2 separate regions of the Homo sapiens genome follow, and region 2 is linked to region 1. The links are contacts of gene promoters, found by promoter capture Hi-C in blood cells and fetal thymus (Javierre and others, 2016). All regions are on one chromosome and are shown on one strand. Each heading gives the region's core, a stretch centred on a gene start or on the middle of the fragment in contact. The rest is flanking DNA. Distances are from core to core; before and after follow the strand shown. Region 1 holds the start of NUDCD2 (NudC domain containing 2). Region 2 overlaps KCTD16 (potassium channel tetramerization domain containing 16).

Region 1 (7,310 bases), core at 2,379-4,878:
TTAAATAAAAAAGCAACAAGAAGAACAATACACACAGTGTGATCCTCCATTTATGCTAAAAAACAAAACAAAACAAGCAATAGCCAACATATGAGATGAAAATGAGATAGATGCATGGAATGGGGAGAATGGTGGTGAAGGGGCCTTTCACTTTTTACACTAGGTAAGTCTATATTGATTCAACTATAGTAAGAGTTTATTCATGCATTACTGATGTACATAAAAGTAAGCTTAAACTCACAAATCACAGCAATACAAATAAATTCCTCTCAAGAAAATCTTCCGAAAAATCAAATCCATACAAGAAAGGCCATTTTTCTAACAATTCACTTTAAAAATTCTTCTAGAAAATGTTTGTAACTTTTCATAATGACATTTGAGTTTTAATTTCAAATATTTATTTGATGATTTTTATATATTTAATTACACATACTCATACACTTCATCTGACTTACTTCTTTTTGGAATCTCTCTAATGTAAGCTTTCTCTGCATTTGGTCTTGCACCCAAGGATCCGCTGCATATTCAGATTCTAGTAGAGAAGTCCAACAATTTGCTGCATCTCTCTTTGTCTTTGTAAGAACAATACGAACCATTTTTCTGTCCTCTAAAAAAAAAACACACACACACACACGCACAAATAAATTAGAGTTCTTCATCAAGTTGTTTTTTTTTTTTTTGAGACAGTATCACTCTCACCCAGGCTGGAGTGCAGCGGCTTGATCTCGGCTCACTGAAACCTCCGCCCCCCGGGTTCAAGTGATTCTCCTGCCTCAGCCTCCCGACTAGCTGGGAATACAGGCATGCGCCACCATGCCCGGCTAACTTTTGTATTTTTAGTATAAACGGGGTTTTGCCATGTTGGCCAGGGTGGTCTCAAGAAGTTCTTCATTAAATTTTATATTTCCAAAAACAACTAACTAATTTTTTCTCCCCCCACTAGGTAACTTTGACATACAACGGTTTTCAACACATTTCTATTGCTTTATCTTTCAAAGCTGCAAAGACAAAAAAGACCTAATACAAAAGAGGAAAAGATATCAAGACAAAATTATTTTAATTTGATGAATTATAGTAATTACCCTTACCCAAAGTCCATGTTCCCTCATCAGCTATTGTAGAATCAAAGAGTTTGCCCTGAAAAATAAACATATAAGGTGCTAAAAATACAGAATTTAATTTTTATAAAGTTTTCATGATTAAGATTTACCTACTTTCCTACCTAATCCACATCTTATACCACCACTTCACCATGACATTTATAGGTGCACAACCCTAAATTTTCTCCCAGCAGGTAAAATGGAAACTAGTTTACACTGCAAGGGATATTTACTATGGCAAAGAACACAGAGCTCTCTAAAGAAAGATCAGGGCTCCTTAATTTTTAGAAGATACAGTAATACTGACCACTGGCCAAATGTGAAATTAATATCTGAAATGCTTTAATTCTACCAATTTAAATTAACCACAAGAAGGGATCTCCTGCTAAAACTAAAAAATGTTGTCTTTTTTTTTTTTTTTTTTTTTTTTTTTGAGACAGAGTTTCGCTCTGTCGCCCAGGCTGCAGTGGCACGATCTGGCTCACTGCAACCTCCACCTCCAGGGTTCAAGCGATTCTCCTGCCTCAACCTCCCAAGTAGCTAGGACTACAGGCGCCCGCCACCACGCCCGGCTAATTTTTGTATTTTTAGTAGAGATGGGGTTTCCCCGTGTTAGCCAGGCTGGTCTCGAACTCCTGACCTTGTGATCCGCCCGCCTAGGCCTTCCAAAGTGCCAGGATTACAGGCATGAGCTACCGCACCCGGCAAAATGTTGTTTTTAAAGTAAACTTTTAAAAACGTTTTAATCTTTTTGTTGGGCAATCGGCATTAAAAAAACTTTACGTATTCCAGATTTGATAGATTAGTTGTGACTAACTGTTCACAAACTCATGTTTTTTAAAAAAATAAACAAAATATAAATTTAAAAGAGACTGCACCAGGCCCAGTAGCTCAGGCCTGTAATCCCAGGACTTTGGAGGCCAACGTGGATTGCTTGACCCCATGGGTTTGAGGCTGCTGTGAGCTACAATCTCACCCCTGCACCCCAGCATGGGAGACAGGGACCCTGTCTCAATAAATATATATTTTTTTTTAAAGAGAGAATGCCTAAACTCAAATCCATTTTAATTTGTTGCCAAATTTAAGTTATAGAAAGTGAAATTAAATGTCACTAGGAAAAGCCCACATTTTAAAATATGTCAAAATTAGTGAGAAAAAAATCCCACTGGTCTATACGTACATCAGAAATCCCAAATTCAGCAGCTACTGCTAAATTCCGAAAGTTACTGGATTTACTAATTTATAATCGTAATCTAAAACCATTGTTGAGGAAACTATGAATTGTACAATTCAGAAAAGTAACTGAGATCCAAGCTGACATAATGTCTTTCACACGAATCTTGAGGCACTCAAAGCACCTCCATATACTGTAATATATATAATAGCTAATAGCTAACATATAGTATGAACTTATTACATACCAGTGAATACTCCAAGCTCTTCATACACGTGAATACCATGTTAAGCTCAAAACAATCCCATGAGAAGGGTACTATAACTACCTTATCTTGTGGATAAGGAAGATATAGAGACACTGAACAATCTCTCGCCCAAGTTTACAAAACTAGGAAACAAGTAGTCTCCCTTCACCATATTACACTGCCATCAAACATCTTGGGCATCTAACCTGAGAACTAAATCTAATTTCAACCTGTTAGTTTAATTATACACTTAACAAAGAAAAAGCGGGTCCAGATCCAAAGAGCATTGGTGAAAAGAAATAAAAGGAGTACTACTTATTTTATGCACACACCTCTTCACCACCTGCTTGACCACTCCACAAACATGCAGGATTTTCAAGCTTTTAGATGAGAAAACTAATCACCTGACATCATCTCTAAATTCTCTGCCCGTTATTCTATCCCTATTTTCTTTGTTGTCCTTTCCTATATTTATCTATTTATGAATTACGCTTCCGTACAGGAGCTTAACCTCTCCACTGCAGGTACGTTATCTGTTGTCTTCCTGCCTGTCTTCAGTGCACGGAAGAAATATTTGTTCCTTTAGCAACCTAGTTAATCTGTTCCCAGCTGAAGCCCGTCAGAGAAGCAGAAGCAGCAGTCTTAGTTTGAAAACTAAACACGAAAATAGGCTCCTCAAATTTCCACAACTCAGCACCTGCCCTGAAGAGGCGGGGGCTCTGACCAGACCCAAACCTGGTCAGTGTTATCCTCTTTCTCTTTCTGCCAGCCACAGGAGCCGTCGGGACACCCAACAGTCGTTCAGGGAAACGGGGCTGGGGGCGTCTGGGAAGAGGAAACTGAACACAAGCCCCGAGCTGCCGCTACCTTGAGGATCTCGCGGCCGCCCACCGACAGCGCCACATGCCGGCTCTGGAGGCCGCACTGGATATCCTGGGCGCGCGTGCCTGGCGGCACCTGAACTTCAATGAACACCTCCTCCAAGGTCTGGTACCACTGGCCCCACGGGGTCCCGCACGGTACCACCCCACTCCGCTCCTCAAACGGGGCCGACATAATCCAGTCCCTCCCGGCCGCGGCCGCACCAGGCGGAGCCGAGCGCACGCGCGGAATCCCACGCTTAGGCTACGCCTCGGCCTCTCCGCTCGGGTCACTGCGCATGCGCAGGAACGCAAGCTAGCGCTTTGGTGTGCGTGTTCGTTTTTCCCTTTGAATGGCCGTTTACGGCACCGGCAGGCCCCGGATGAAAGAACTGAAATCCAGAAAAGTTCACATGCAACGAACAATGGGACAGAATTGGAACCAGTGAAGCCGGAACTCACTACACCGTCCCCTAAGTGACGCCAAAATGCACTTTCTAACGTCTCCGGAGGGAAGTGCGCTTGCGCAAATGCTAGGTTACACTTGAGTAACTCCGGGAATGACTGGGTGGGTGGGGCGGGGAACAGTAACGGTCTCCTATTGGATGGCAGCCTAAACTCGCAGGCCAGCTAATTGGACGCAATCAGAACCCAGCATTCTTTCTTCGTGTTCCTGTGCGGGATTGGTGTGCCCAGGGGTTTGGCTTTCCAATTGGCTAACGCCGGGGTGGGTGGGGAATGTGGGGAGATTTGAATTTGAAACCGGTAGGGAGTGATAATCCGCATTCAGTTGTCGAGGAGTGCCAGTCACCTTCAGTTTCTGGAGCTGGCCGTCAACATGTCCTTTCCTAAGGCGCCCTTGAAACGATTCAATGACCCTTCTGGTGCGTAAGGGGGAAAGAGCTGGGGGACGGGAGACGCCCTAACGCCCTTTGCCTCTTTCAGCTCCCTTCTTGGGAGGCAAGCAGGAGGCGATTTTAGGGTCGGGCTGGGGCTCATTCAGTTGATTGATTTTTCTCAAATATGCTCTAAGCATCTGTTACATGCCAAGCACTAATCAGGATGCTAAGGATACCGCAGTGAAACAGTCTCCGCCCCGTGGGGCTTACATTCAGGCGGGGAATACTGTCAATAAACAGCGGTAATGGAGAAACTACAGCAGGGCGAAGGGAATGGACCCGAGACGTTGGTAGCTACTTGATTTTCAAGTCCGAGAGGGCCTCACTGATAAGAACACTGGAGTATTACTTGTAGTCTGAACTTGTGCATTTCTTTTGTGTATTCCATTTGGGCATAAAAGAAGGAAGATTAGTAAAGGCAGTTTATGGGTGTAAAATTAGAGCAGCAGCACTTATTGAAAACATAAACAATGAAGTTATGGCTGATATTGACCACTTATACCTCAAGCACCGTACTAAGGCTTTACATCGATTATTAGTTATGTTAATTTCCCACCAACTCTAAGGGGTAATCCTATTATTATTTTATTGATAAAAAGACTGAGACTTAAATTTGCTCAGTGCTACATTACCAAAGTGACCGGACTGGAATATGAACCCAGCCCCCATCGTGTGCTCTTAACACCGCAATGCACAGCACAGTAACCAGGAAGCCTTAGCTGTGTTTGGTAGGCACTCATCATTTAAGATGCTGTATGCGGCCGGGCGCGGCGGCTCACGCCTGTAATCCCAGCACTTTGGGAGGCCGAGGCAGGTGGATCACGAGGTCAGGAGATCGAGACCACCGTGAAACCCCGTCTGTACTAAAAATACAAAAAAAATTAGCCAGGCGCGGTGGCGGGCGCCTGTAGTCCCAGCTGACTACAGGCTGAGGCAGGAGAATGGCGTGAACCCGGGAGGCGGAGCTTGCGATGAGCCGAGATCGCGCCACTGCACTCCAGCCTGGGCGACAGAGCAAGACTCTGTCTTACAGAAAAAAAAAAAATGCTGTATGCTGGGACTGTGCTACTAGATCTTGTTTATTCCTTCCAAAAGCCAAGTGAGGAAGGTACTGATATTGACCTCATTTTACAGATGAGAAAACAGAGGTTTTGTATCTTGCACAATCAGTAAGTGGTAGAGCTAAATATTAAAGCTCATGATTTATTCACTATCATACACTATTTCGTGGTTACTCATTACGTCTCTAAGTTTTGTCAGCCAACGTGTGAATGAAAATACAACTACTCACAAAGGAAGGCCAAATGAGCAAGTGAATCAGCACAAACTTATTTTCTTAGTTAAAAGACTCAAGGACCATATGATTTCCCGAGTAATCAAAGGACCTACTCTTAAGTTTTGTCAGCAGTGTGGCTTTAAGGTTTTTTTGGTTTTTTTGTTGTTTGCATTATAGTAGGTTAAACTGGCTTTATCAAAGATATAGTATTTCAGGCTCACAGTTACAGAAATAATACTAATTATTAATTTGATGCTTAATGTGTATGAGGCACTGTGGTGATTTTTCATATTCCAGTACTCCAGCCTGGGTGACAGTGCGAGACTCTGTTTCAAAAAAAAAAAAGCAAAAAAACCCCCAAAATTTATATTTCAACCTAAGATGTATTTTTATATCTCTACACATACATACGAAAGAAAAGTTTCACAAAACAATGCCTAACTTTGCAGCATATGAGTCATGCTTTTTCTATTGTTTTTACTTTTTAAAAAATGCTAATCAAGATCTACTCATGGGGCTGGGCCTGGTGGTTCACACGTGTAATCCTAGCACTTTGGGAGGCCGAGGCAGAGAGATCAGCTGAGGTCAGGAGTTCAAGACCAGCCTGGCCAACATGGTGAAACCCTGTCTCTAGTAAAAATACAAAAAACTAGCTGGGCGTGGTGGTGGGAGCCTGTAATCCCAGCTACTCGGGAGGCTGAGGCAGGAGAATCGCTTGAACCCAGGAGGCAAAGGTTTCAGTGAGCCAAGATGGCGCCACTACACTCCAGCCTAGACAACAGAGCAAGACTCCGTCTCAAAAAAAAAAAAAAAAAAAAAAAAATCATGAGTTCCTGTCTACTGTTTGACAAACATTTAGGGGACAGCAGTAGTTGCCTGGGAATGGTCCAAGCTCCTTGCTCTTCCTATTTATTTGCATGAGACTCTAGACTGAAGTAAATAGCTTTTCAGAGAATAGTATTAATCTATTTGTTCCCAATCAGCTAAAGCTTTAGGCTAGTAGTATTTTAATTACTTTAAGTCCTAAAGGCCCCATCTCAGGTCTGCTATGTGTATTTACTCAGAAATGCCTTCAAATCTGGGACTTTAGTTAAGTGAAATTATGCAGTATAAACTTCTGGAACATACAAATATAGTCTAGTACAATTTGTACTTTGTGTAACATTGGCTTTTTGAATTTCCTAAGCCTCACATTCTTTGTCTATAAATTATCACACAGGATTCTTGTGAGGATTAAATAAAATAACATCTGTGAAATGCTTAGCATAATGCCTGGCATTTAGTAAGTGCTCAAAAAATTCTAGTTGCTCTAGTGTGGTTGCTTTTCTTCCATGTGTTTGAATTGCAGTTGACATCTTTAATAGGTCTGATGTATTGATATTAGCCAGAGATGGATTATCACTATAAATTTTTATTCTAGGCTAAACATTGAGGGATAGACAATTTTAATTACTTTATTTCTAGAAACTGATAGTAGTTATCTTTGTGACTCTCTTCGAGTAGAGTTGACACCAAGTATTTTATTTGCTATATTCAATCCTTAGTAAGAAAGCCATATATTGCCTGTAATATATGATGTTCATCTCAAAACTGTCGTTTGCTCAGTTGCCTGTGTTCCTTTGACCCGGTTGATATAAAGGGCAAGATGATATTGTTCTTCATAGAGAGGCCTTCTTTGTAATATCAAATGGATGCAATTTTTTACATTTAAAAAAAGCAGTTTGTTAATGACATTTTTACATTTATATTCACTT
Region 2 (7,310 bases), core at 3,468-5,967, about 19 Mb before region 1:
CTTATTATGGTTTTTATTTGCATTTCCCTGATGATTAGTGATGTTGAGCATCTTTTCATACACTTGTTGGACATTTGTATAAATTCTTTGGAGTAATGTCTATTCAAGCCCTTTGCTACAAAGAGGTGCATTTAATTAATCAGTTACTTCCTCTGTCTACAGAAAAATTTTAGTTAGCAACATGGTAAGAGCCATTTCCCTTGTTCTTTTTGATAAACTACATCACCATTATTTCAGATCTCAGTAATAAATATAAAATAATAACCAAAACTTGCTCTTATTATGTGTCAGGCACTGTTCTAAATATCTTACATATATTAACTAATTTACTCCTCAAAACTTCCTTATAAATGGATACTGTTAACTATCTTCATTTTGCAGAGGAAGACAGAGGCAGAGAGAGGTAAGTGACTTGTCCAAAGTCAAATGGCTGCTGAGCAGTAGAGTGAGGATGGGTACCTAGGAAGTTGATTTAGAGTCTATGCACTTAACCACAACATTATTTTGCCTCTCTGACACCTACTCAGTCTTTTAAAATATCACCTACATCTTTGTTATTGGACACCTCTTCTGTATAAGTTTGTATTTCAGACAACAGAAAATTAAATGCAAATTGATAGCATTGTAGGAAGATACTCATTGCCTCAGTGGATGCCAAGTCTAGGGTACAGCTAGCTTCAGATTTGTTTGAATTCAGTGGCTCAAACAATATCATATATCTTAATGGTCCCAGAAAATGTTCCCAAATCACATCTTTTTTGGCTCTGGTTGAGCTTCATGTCCATTGCTGTAATAAAAATGGTGGCAGGGAGTATAAAATGCTGTGACCAGTCTACCCAAGTAAGTCATGCACCTGTACCTGGAGCAAGGGTGACAGCAATACAGCCTGAAGCACAGAAACCTGGAGTAGGGGAGGGATAATTCTCATGCAGTATTACTAGACACCCATTTACATTTTATTGTTTTCTTGGGAGATAGGGAGCTTTTTTGCATTAGGAATAAATACATGAGTGAAATTACTAAGATTAAAAAAAAACCCCTTTCTTGTCATGAATGATTTGAGTAATAAAAAGATAATAACAATAGGTAACATCAATTTAGTACTTACTATATAATAAATGCTGTCCTAAGTATTTTACATGTATTGGCTCAATTAATCCTCACAAGAACTCTCTAAGTCAAGTGCTATTATCATCCTGTTTTACTGGTAAGATACCTGAGGTGCAAAAGTTTCTGGGTGTACCTGGAAGGGAATATGATAACTTGCCCTAGGTGACCCAGTTGATGAAGTCAAGATTTGAACTCCAAGTGAGCTTCAGAATCTCTTCTGTATTCTAACATTTGAACACCAGGCTGTCTTCAGAGCCTCTTCTATAATCTATCATTCATATCATAAGGTAGCTTACTTGTCACATATGGAAACTGTGGCCCACAAAAGAAACAGAATAATTCATCAGTTATGCTTGATGTTTGCTACCAGGAAAGACAGCAGAGACTCTCATATGGCCAACCCAGAAAACAATTAGAGTTTACACTAGCATCTAAAGTCTACAGTTATGTAAGAAAGAAATATGTAAATATGAAGTATATTCTACGAAGTTTGTGCTAGATCTCATTTTTTTTAAAAAAAAAAAGAAAAAAAAAAAAACTAATGGCTTATTGTCCCTGTTCAGAGCCTAAGGGAATTGGTTTAAAGTTTAAATAAAAAATTGTACATGCTGCCAGTCAGAACTATTCATCATCATAAGCATTGCATTTATTTTATTTATATGTGCTTTAACAATATTCTAGATTTGTAGTTTTAAAAAATAGCTGAAAAGTCTGTCTCAAAGCTCTCTCACCTCTTAAAAGAAAGCAGAAGGACTTTAAAAAACCAGTTTGTTTAAACAAGGCCAAACTGTTTTCCAGGTATCCACATTTTCTCCTCAACACATGCCCAATCCAAAGACAGAGCATCAAGGGCAATATACTCTATGTATGTTAAAGTTTTAATATTACCAAACTGATCAAGGTAAAGGATTATTAACTTTTTTAACCACTAGAAATGTAACATTAGCTGTGTAGCTTTTCTGGCCTCAGTTTTCTCAGCTGAATAATGAAGACAAAAAGAAACTGGAATAGGGATGTATTGATCCATCTATTCATTCAGTAACTCTTTATTCAACACCTATTATGTGTCAGGTTCTGTGCCAGGTGCTGGGGATGGGATATAATAATGAACAAAAATAATAATGATCCCTTCCCTCTCAGCGCTTACAGTGTCACTGGGGGAGAGAAACATGATTCAAATAATCACTCCTCAAATAGTCAAAGAACTCCTTAGGGCTTTTCAGTTCCTAAATTCCATATATACATAAACATAAAAAATAGTTCATAGAACACAAATCTTCTTACATGTTTATTTGAAAGATCTGACAAATCTCATTTATTTCTTAGACTCATTTTTTTTTCCAGATTATTAGCTACAGATATTGCAAACCACTTATAACAATTTTCTGCCTGCCAATGACATAATGCATTGTACTGGCTCATTATTGTAATAGTTGTTACTATGCATATTGAATGCAAATTTCAGGTAATATTTTAGTCTTCATTTTCTATTCATTCCTAGCACTGCCTTTCTATTTCTAACAGGGAGGGATTAAAAAATAACAGAGTCAATAAATTTTAGAGTTTCAAAGGTAAGAGCTGATTTCACACACACACACACACACACATATACACACACACATACACACAGGGGGCAAGAGAGAAAAAATGTTGTTTATTCTTCTAGCTATAACAAAATATCACTTGGGTTCCCCCTTTTCCTCAGATTTTAATTCTATTGATGAAGCATATACAGAGGAAAATATGAAAATGAGTTGTTTTCACTGAATCATTAATGACTTGAGGCTGGCAGTAGGTAGACTTCTTAATTGCTTAATTGTTTATTAAATTTATTCTTTAGCAGTTGATCTCTGGATTTCTTTGTGTACCCCAGAGTCTTGCTGTTAATCAAATATTCTGTAAAATTTTTGCTTTTGCCTGGAAAAATGATTCTACAAGTTCCAGATGTCTTAGGTTGTGTTAAATGTTTGAGGAAAGAAGGCTATTTATTGGAAACCAGCCAGGATCTTTGTTTAGATTATTTTTGCCAGCAGCTCTTCTACTTCAGGCTGTGATTTCATCAAAAAATATTTGCACAAGCCATTGCTTCAGTAACCACGTCTCCAGCCCCACCGGAAGTGGATGTGGTTAATCTAGTAGACAGCACTCTTCTGTCTGAGCCTAGCTTAGACATAGTAGACTGAAAAATTATGTATCTGGAGTTGTTTTTCACCAGGGTTGGCAAGAGGCTCTGATAATCTGCCATCATTATAGGTTTCTTGCTTCTTATCACAACAGCAAGGCTTCTTTGATGGGGTTGAGTCTAGGCAAATGTTTTGGTTGGTAATTAATTGTCCATATCTTACATTTCATCTGGATTTTTCTGTTAATGTGATCCTTCTATGTGTATTGTCCTTTGGTACTTACAAAAAGCTAATAGATATTAGCTTTGTACCTCTTCCAGATTTACTGTTATTTAGCAGTAGGGAATCATTAAGGCCGCATTCTCATCCTAGATCTGTTTTCTTATGTCTGTCAAGAGAAAGTACATGAGAAAATAGTCAAAGTTAGTTTTAAGAATGCATTTCCTGATGGAGTTTAGAATGATACATCTGGTGGTAAGCTTTCTCATCCTAACTCTTTTCTTTAACCCACAAAGGGTGCTTAACCAAAAGTGGCTAGGCTGATGGTTAGTAGGTAGGACATTTCAACCTCTGGCAAATTTGTCATTGAGCAGCATCAGTAAAAAGGTGGAAGATTCTCCACTATCCTCAAAACTTTTTCAATGACTATAAATCAAATGTAATAAAGAGGCATCTAACCAAAATAAAATTTAAGCTGTTGTGCCTAAGGTGATCCAAATATACATGAAGAGAAATGTATCAACAGATAAATAACTTGAGTTATGAAATAGGGGTTTGGAGTGGAAAAGAGTCAGGTGAGAGGTCAGCTTGAAAACACCAAATGGGGCATTGTAATATTCCTAATCAAATACTCACCTCCCCTCCCCTGCCACAAAAAGTTGAGAATCAATACTGAGTGAACAGCTTCTTTGAAAAGTGAATCTTTCTACAAAGAAGTTCCAAAAGAGAGATAAAAGATCAACTATACACAACATAATCAAAAGCAAGCCCTGTTGTCATGGTAAGGCCTTATATTCATGTGTAGGGTGTCTAAGTAGCACCAGTAATTTGCAAACACATTGATAAAGGCAATAAATAACAATGATATCAAAGGATGCACTTAGACATTTTGGACCCTCTAAGATATGCCAGGCTCTTTATACTTAAATCTACTGGAGTAGCAGTTCTGAAAGTATTTAACGCACAGCTCTTAACCTACTTGGAGAACATGTACTGTTTTGAAATTTGGATGAACTCTTGGGATCTCTAGAAAATGCAGAGCAGGTCACGCCTGTAATCCCAGGACTTTGGGAGGCCGAGGCGGGCGGATCACGAGGTCAGGAGATTGAGACCATCCTGGCTAACATGGTGAAACCCCGACTCTACTAAAAATACAGTAACAAAATTAGCCGGGTGTGGTGGCGGGCGCCTGTAGTCCCAGCTGCTCGGGAGGCTGAGGCAGGAGAATGGCGTGAACCTGGGAGGCGGAGCTTGCAGTGAGCCTAGATTGCGCCACTGCACTTCAGCCGGGGTGACAGAGTGAGACTCCATCTCAAAAAAAAAAAAAAAGAAAAAAGAAAAAGAAAATGTAGAGCAGGTACATAGAGTTTTGCATACAATTTCAGGGAATTCATGAATTTTGTGAATCCCGTTTGCAGACCTAGGTTAAGAATGGAGGCTTAAAGCAAATCGTGCTAGGTAATAAGGACCTTCACGGAATATAATTTTCCTTTCTGAGTAACTGTTGTCAGCCACCTTGTATCACAATACACATGCCCTTTAGTTTTTTCAGGTGGTTTGCCAGCATTTTTCCTCTTTTCCCTTATATTGGTCATCTCATTTTAATTCACATGGTTGCCATATTCCTTAGCCTTTTATGAAGGTAGTTAAGGTAGACTGCTATATTGTTATTTCCCTTCCTTCTCCACAGTGGCTTTAAAGAGTTTATGTGGCCTCTGTGTCAGAACTACTTATTGCATTCAGGATGAGGCTGACAACCCACAACCTGTGAAGACAGACTGGGGAAATCCACCGGAAAAGGTTTTGGAGGGAACTGCAGATTCGTTGTGAGTAACCAGACCCAGCGAGAGCAATGAATTACATAAGCACAAATGAATATGTCTGCATTTTGATAACCCTTCACCCCACCCGCAGCCAGGCACTTAGTCACTCTTTCCTCTGTGTCTCCTTAACGCTATTATACCTCTATTATAGCTCCTATCACTGCACTGGATTTATTTGTTTACGAGTCTGTCTCTCTTACTAGACTATGAGCAATTCCAAGGCAGAGTCCATGACTTATTTATCTCTGTACCTCAACCCAGTGTCTGGGTTAAGAGTGCAGGCTTTGGAGTCAGAGTGTCTGCACTCAAATCCACGTTCTGTACATTTGCGTAAGATCACTTGGGCTAGCTACTTGACTTATCTGAACCTTGGCTTCTCTCTCCTTCCGTTCTCTCTCTTTCTTACGATGCCTCACTTTCCTTTGTGCCTATAAGTGTCACACTAACAAAGCTTATTGTGAAGAATAAATGAAATAATGCTCAGCATAGTGACAGTCATGTAGTAGTGATTCAGTAATTGGTATCTATTATTATATCTATTAATATTACGATTGATTGTTGAATGAAAATTCCTTTCTTTACTATAGTTCACCTGACTGGAAAAAGCCTTTTTTAGCTTAAACTACTAAAGAACACACTTTTCCCCTACCTCTTTCCTTGTCCCCTCTGTCCCTTTGCTATTAATACCCCTCCCCAGTAACATAGTAATTAATATTCTATTTTATTTTTCTCCACTATATTTATTATCATCTGACATTCTATATGCTTATTCATTTATTGTCTAGAATGTGAGCTCTATGAAGGCAGGAGCTTCAGCTCTTTTGTGTTCATTGTGGAATCCCCATTGCCTATGGCAATGCCTAGCATGTGGAACATACTAAACAAACATTTACTGAATGAATGAGTGAATGGGCACTCACAGACACACACACACCACAACACACATAAAACATTCTCATTCTCTGCTGAAGGTGAGCCTCACTGATTGTCGTTAATGTGCGACATTCAATGTACACCATTCTTCACTTTGCCAAATGGGTAATAGAGCAGCTTTTATCTTTATTTCCCTTTCTTTCATGGCTGGGGGATAGAGGGAAAATATTTTTTAATACTGTTGTAAAAACGGAAATTCTTATTGCTTTAATGTCAAAGCCACACCTGTCAGTGGGGACATTGAATGGGAATCATTGGTGGAAGTCCTCCCTGATAAGTGAGCAAAGGGATGCTGGGGAGAGGGTAGATGAGTTCTGAGTTACTCTGTAGAAGTGGTGGTCGTTGAGAAACTTGTTTCTGTCATTTCTGCTCAAAAACTCACAATGACTACTTAGTGTTTACAGAATTAAGTTCAAACTCCTCCACTGTTCTTTCACTGGTGCCTTTTGCTCCAGCCAAACTGGATAATTGACTGTTCTTTTCCCAACTGCTGCTCCCCTCCATATACCCCCTGACACACTTACACACATATTTTTTCAACCACTTTTCCCTTCTACATAGAACCTTTAGCTTCTGTTTTCTAGGTTCCACCTGTCCTTCAAAGTGCAATAGCAACTCTGTCTAGTCATGATATTTCCTCTCATTCCTCTCATCCTCCCTCCCTAAGCCCTGAAGACAGCTGGCTGAGTTATCCTTCCTCAGATTTCTTTAAGAAATCTCACCTCCTCTTTGGGGGTGTTTACCAGCTTTTGCCTCCACTTATCTCTCTCTAGACTTGTCTGCTAAATTATCTCAACAGCCGAGACAGTTCCCTGTTTTTCTATGCATCTCAGGCTAACAGTGAGTGTTTGCGGCAGTGCTTCTGCATGGAGCTGCGTATTTCCATTTTTTTTTTTTTCAGCAGTACAAATAAACTTTAGGCCTTTTCTGATAACATGTTAAATATAAAGTATTTTTCTTATATGGTCAATACAAGTGAATTTCTTTCACCATTCATGCTGTAAAAGGCAGAATAATTAATAATGAAGGTAAATGTAGAGACAGGCTTGCATTTCTTGAGGCTACAGTGAGAAGGGATCAGTTTCTTATAGGGCTTGGCAGG

Evidence for each region. Contacts are between HindIII fragments. The CHiCAGO score rates a contact against its expected background, and 5 or more counts as called.
Region 2: a fragment that was not itself captured here is called in contact with the fragment with the promoter of NUDCD2 in region 1 in 2 of 17 cell types (non-activated CD4 T cells and total CD4 T cells); the score reaches 7.2 in non-activated CD4 T cells.

Annotation. Positions count from the first base shown.
Region 1 is chr5:163,456,474-163,463,783 of GRCh38, forward strand. NUDCD2 (NudC domain containing 2) reads right to left here and starts at 3,629. Exons shown (of 4, transcript NM_145266.6): 1 at 3,389-3,629; 2 at 1,089-1,137; 3 at 456-607. The coding sequence starts at 3,577. It overlaps HMMR (hyaluronan mediated motility receptor), which reads left to right and starts at 4,159. Exons shown (of 18, transcript NM_001142556.2): 1 at 4,159-4,265. The coding sequence starts at 4,220. It also overlaps a transcript of CCNG1 not described here. RefSeq lists enhancers at 3,346-3,595, 4,346-4,405 and a silencer at 3,926-4,015. The HindIII fragment of the contact is 3,644 bases long and covers 2,900-6,543 here.
Region 2 is chr5:144,184,730-144,192,039 of GRCh38, forward strand. The region is part of intron 2 of KCTD16 (potassium channel tetramerization domain containing 16); the gene reads left to right. Among named protein-coding and RNA genes, the nearest start is that of KCTD16, 18 kb to the left of the region's middle. The HindIII fragment of the contact is 2,014 bases long and covers 3,711-5,724 here.